Linked DNA regions of Homo sapiens: region 1 is linked to region 2. The links are contacts of gene promoters, found by promoter capture Hi-C in blood cells and fetal thymus (Javierre and others, 2016). All regions are on one chromosome and are shown on one strand. Each heading gives the region's core, a stretch centred on a gene start or on the middle of the fragment in contact. The rest is flanking DNA. Distances are from core to core; before and after follow the strand shown.

Region 1 (2,700 bases), core at 200-2,699, 180 kb before region 2:
TGTCTCAGTTTTCACTGCGGGACCTCCCTCCATGGAACCAGAGCTGTCTCAGTTCCCACTGTGGGGCTTCCCTCATGTACCCCATGGCTGCCTCAGTTCCCGCCGCGGGGCCTCCCTCCATGGACCCACAGCTGTCTCACACACGTGCTCTTCACTCCGTGTCTCCATTTGTCCTTTAACTCTGTCACATCTCTGGGTTTATATAACACAACACACACATCATTTACAAGGGAGGGGAGCTCTAAGAGTTGGCCGGGTCCTCAAATTTGCATGCCACTGTCCCTTTAATTTCAGAGAGGTCCATAAGCACTTTGTCATTGAGATGACTTTTGAAAGATCATACTTAAGGGGTATAAGTGGGTTTGGCTGTATAAATTTATTTCAGTCACAGAACAATAACCTAGTAACACTAATCTGCTGAGTGAAACATTTTTCAGAACACACCATACTGTTCAGCGCCTGAACAGACACTAGTGATTCTGGTAAATGCAGAGGAGAATGTTCTCATCTCACTTGAGAAACACTTACAATCCGAACGCAAAGCTAACATTTTTAAGGAATTCTTCTCCACAGAACACGTTCATTATTTACCTTTCCTTGGACATCAAGAGTGTAAGTAGTGAAGCTGTGGCAGAAATCAAATTCCCAGAAATTGGCAAAAATCAAAGTCACAGTAAAAGTGAGTTTATTTCTTAGCAGCTAAGCCACATATCCTGCCGCTGGTACTGCCTACAGGATTGTTTATAACTCAAGAGGAAAGGGACAGAAGGCCAGATCCAGCAAAGCCTGGGGAAGTATGGCGTGCAGGAAGCCTGCAGAAGCTTTGTCCGTGCACAGCAAAGAAGCAGACAAAAGTTACATTTCAGACATCAGCTACATCTCAGACGTAAGTTATATCTCAGACATGATGATACAGTATACCAACGACGCAGATGTGTGGGGGGTGTGTGGAGACACGTACATCATCGTGGGCAGGACCCCATTCTACCTGTGCTCTGCCAAACATGTTGTTAAAACTGTCCGCGTTTGGTGGACTGTTTATAATCACTGCTCTATAATAGAACACCTGGAAATGCTCTCTGTAAATAAACCCACTGAAGGATCTAGAGATGTCAATTCTTGCCTAATGAATCCAGAAAGTCAGTCCAAGCCTAATCAAAATACCTTCTGGGTTTTTTCCATTCACGGAATTTAACAAGATGATTATATAGTACAGAGAAAAAAAAAAGCACAAGAGCAAAAAAAAATTAATAAAGAATAATGAATAGGGACTCACACTGCCAGATATTAAAGATACTATAAATCTATGGTAATTACAGGATGGTATTAGTGAGGGAGACAAACAAATCAACAGAAAAGAGAGAGTCCAGAAATAGACCCACATACGTAACTCTAATGAGGACAGCATTTTAAATCTGCAAAGAAGGAATTAACAATTCAATAACTGATGCTGGAAACTCTAACCAGCCATTTGGTATTTTGCTATCTGAGATTACACACACACACACACACACACACACCCCAGAGTGGACTGAAAACCTAAATGTAAAAGCACAGGAAAATTTTCATTTATTTTGGCATATGAAAGGCCTTAATTAAGCAAGTCACAAAACCTAATAAGTCTTGAGACTGACTGATACAGTAAGATAAAAAAATCTATAATTCTAATAAAGACATATCAATGACTAGCAATTTTAGAAGAAAGGAGGTACACAGTACATGACAGAGAATTTTTTAGATGTGTCTATATAAACTTCTGCTGCAGATCAACAAGGGACAAAACGAAAACAAACAGGCAAAACATACAAACAGGCAATTCACAGAAGAAAAATGAATCAAAAATGATTCTAAGTTTCATGCTCTTTATTAGAAATGCAAATTACAATGAGAATCTATCTATCTACCTATCGATCCATCCATCCATTCATCCATCCATCCATCCGCCCATCCATTCATTCATCCATTCTGTTTTTATTCAGCAAAGTGGAAAGCAGGATAAAATGTGAATAATGCCCCATTGTGGGAGGATGCAGGGCACTCATCCATCAATGGTGGGAATGTAAATTAATGAAGCTTGTATGGAAGGCAATTGGGAAGTACTTAACAAAAATTTTAAAGGCACATTCCTTCTGACTACTTCTAGATATCCATCCTATAGAAATACTTGCATTTGTACATGAGATGTTTTGACTGGTAAAAAAAAAAGCTGAAAATTATCTAAATGCCAGTGTGGTAGAGACTGCTAGGCTAATATCTGATTTTCTCTCTCTTCTAAAGCAGTTGTAGCTGAGCACATGGCCCAGTTTCCTTTCCAGTGAAGTCTGTCCTGCAGCCAAATTCTGGCCAGCGCGACATGGTCAGAGGTGCAGCGTCCACGTTCTTGGAGCATGACATGATCAGAAGTGCAATGTCCATGATCTTGGAGTGTGACATGATCAGAGGTGCAGCGTCCACGTTCTCAGAGCATGATGTGGTCAGAGGTGCAGCGTCCACGTTCTCGGGGCGTGACGTGGTCAGAGGTGCAGTGTTCACGTTCTTGAAGCGTGACATGATCAGAGGTGCAGCGTCCATGTTCTCAGAGCATGACATGATCAGAAGTGCAATGTCCATGATCTTGGAGTGTGACATGATCAGAGGTGCAGCGTCCACGTTCTCGGAGCATGATGCGGTCAGAGGTGCAGCGTCCACGTTCTCGGAGCA
Region 2 (2,700 bases), core at 193-2,692:
CTTTATAATAACTTTGCACTAATTTGTTACTAGTTGAACATTTTCCAGTAATCTCATTTCCTAGCATAGTATATCAGACTTCTGCACTTCACCCAGCTTGGATATTTTAAAAAGTAGACTAATCATGTGGGTATAAAGATTATATCGCACGTTGTCCTTCCTCTAAGTGTTTACAGAACTAAGTAGTATGCCAAAGAGCATGTAAATACTCGCAATGCTCTATTTTCAAATTTGCTTAACTTTTATTATCTGAATTAGAACTTAGTTGGAATTGAATTAACACTACCCAGTGAATAATGACTAACCAAAACAGCATTTTCCATTTTCAACCAAAAACTGCAGTCTGAAATGGCTTTTGCTTTCTAGTTGACTTACAACGTGTGGCTAGGGGGAAATGTCGGCGCTTTCCCAAGGACACTTTTCGGGCTGTAAACTTTCTTTGTTGGGGAAACTACCAAGTTCAAGGGGTGCCTTCAGAATCCACTTACCCGATCCTTCATCCTCCAGCTCTGAGCTAAGGATTTGGAGCCTTCAATTTTCTCACAGTGCCTCTTTTTCATAAAAGCCAAAGGTAGGTTCCAGTCTGTAAGATCAGCCTCATCTTCCTCCCCCAGGCCCAGAAGAGGCGATTGCAGCATTTCGGACTCCATCAGTGGGGGAGGGGGTGGGGGAGTCCTTGGCAGCAAGCGCTCGAGAACCTCCAGCCTTAAAAACTAGCGTGTACCAGAATTGGTGAAATAAGAAACAAAAACGGGAAATCGAAAACCAAATGGATAAAGAGTGCGGAGACCCTTACTCAGGCAAAAGTCTGAGATCCTTATCTCTAACTCTGAGCGGGAAGTGGGGAGGTGGGGGCCGCTAGGAAATGGGGCAGCCCAAGAAGCTCCGCAGACACACACCACCCCAGGTCCCAAGCCACTGGCTGCTCCTGAGGCTGTACGTTTCCAGAGGGGCTGCGAGGGGAGCTGCCAAAAGCGTAAGAGACTTCAGGCCTCACGATGACCCTGCTCTCGGCCTCCACCGCCTCAGCAGTTCCGAAGACAGGCAGGCCGCTCTTGGTGCCGGTTCGCCCACTGGGCCGACTGGGCTGAGGTCTCCGGCCAAGGGATCGGGTTCAAAGGGCCCTGGGTCTCCTCCAGCCACTCTCAGCCCTGCGGGTCCCGCACTCGTCTGAGCTGCTGCAACCAGAGCCACGACCGGCCCATCGTGCTCGCCTGCACCCGGTTCCTCAACCTCAGGTCCGCGCGGCCTGGCTGGTCCTGGCCTTCAGCCCCGAGGCTCTCTCCTGCCTGAGAACGAGTCCTGAGAAACGGGCGACACGGAACCACGGAGGAAAGGGACAATGTGGGCTTATTGGGTCATGGGAGCTTTGCCCTCTGGTTTGGAGCTACAGTGAAACTCATCTCATCAGCCCATCAAGGAGGACGCCATATTGCCAGGACCCAGAATGCACCGCGGCCTACGGCGTGGCCGACAGACCAAACCTCCTCAGAGCGGTCTCTCCCCGCCACCCAGCATGCAGCGAAGGAGAAAGAGTCCCCGACCCCGTTACCTCGGTTACCATAATTCCGTTTTCCCCAGTTAATCGCCATTTGTTCAGTAGAGGCGTGTTATTAAAGTCAATCCTACAAATGAAACTGTCGGTTTAATTTATTTTTTCAAAAACATTGTCATTATAAATGAAGTTACATGCTCCTGAAATTAAAGGAATCAACCGCCTTGTTTCTTCCAGATTTTGAAAAAGCGGCAAAAGCTTCACTGATAATATTAGAAAATATTAAAAAGCACTGATAATATTAGAAAATATAGTACTTTTTTTTTTGGAGTGTAGTGTCCTCCACAGTGTCAATCAGATTTTCTCTTTAATTTTTTCATAGAGAACCAAGTGAAAGGCCGGGCGCCGTGGCTCACGCCTGTAATCCCAGCACTTTGGGAGGCCGAAGCGGGCAGATCACGAGGTCAAGAGATCGAGACCAGCCTGGCCAACATGGTGAAACCCCGTCCCTACTAAAAATACACAAATTAGCTGGGCGTGGTGGTGCGCGCCTGTAATCCCAGCTACTCAGGAGGCTGAGGCAGGAGAATTGCTTGAACCCGGGAGGCGGAGGTTGCAGTGGGCCAAGATCGTGCCACTGCACTCCAGCCTGGGAGACAGAGCAAGACTCTTCAGATGAAGAAGGGTCTGAAGCAACAGAAGAAGAGTCTGGAGCAAGATTCGATGAAAAAAAATTTCATCTAATACAATTTTTTGTTTAATCTGTTTCGTTTTCTGAGCAGTTTATCCTTTTTAAATTTTTTTCCCACTTCTTGGTAGCAGTAGTTTATTCTTATTTTGATATAGCTTCACGTGCAGACATCTAAAACTACATGTCTGTGCGTGGAGGCAAGCCTCTTGTGTGACTCTCTTTTTCAATTCAGGAAATTTGGCTCATTTACAATGTATAGAGAACTGTGTAAGGTGGACTATAAAACCAAATGTAGGCAGGGCACCGTGGCTCACGCCTATAATCCTAGCCCTTTGGGAAGCCGAGGAGGGTGGATCACGAGTTCAGGAGTTCGAGACCAGCCTGGCCAACATGGTGAAACGCCGTCTCTAATAAAAATACAAAAATTAGCTGGGCGTGGTGGCGTGCGTCTGTAGTCTCAGCTGCTCGGGAGGCTGAGGCAGGAGAAGAGCTGGAACCTGGGAGGCAGAGGTTG

What was found. The method cuts DNA at HindIII sites, captures the fragments that hold promoters and counts their contacts. A CHiCAGO score of 5 or more calls a contact.
Region 1: a contact is called between a fragment that was not itself captured here and the fragment with the promoter of RPTOR in region 2, in 1 of 17 cell types (naive CD4 T cells). The highest score is 5.0, in naive CD4 T cells.

Annotation. Positions count from the first base shown.
Region 1 is chr17:80,727,267-80,729,966 of GRCh38, reverse strand. The region is part of intron 4 of RPTOR (regulatory associated protein of MTOR complex 1); the gene reads right to left. Among named protein-coding and RNA genes, the nearest start is that of RPTOR, 180 kb to the right of the region's middle. The HindIII fragment of the contact is 1,252 bases long and covers 824-2,075 here.
Region 2 is chr17:80,543,580-80,546,279 of GRCh38, reverse strand. RPTOR (regulatory associated protein of MTOR complex 1) reads right to left here and starts at 1,442. Exons shown (of 34, transcript NM_020761.3): 1 at 489-1,442. The coding sequence starts at 650. RefSeq lists enhancers at 95-921, 849-948, 1,229-1,588, 922-1,748. The HindIII fragment of the contact is 2,750 bases long and covers 1-1,755 here.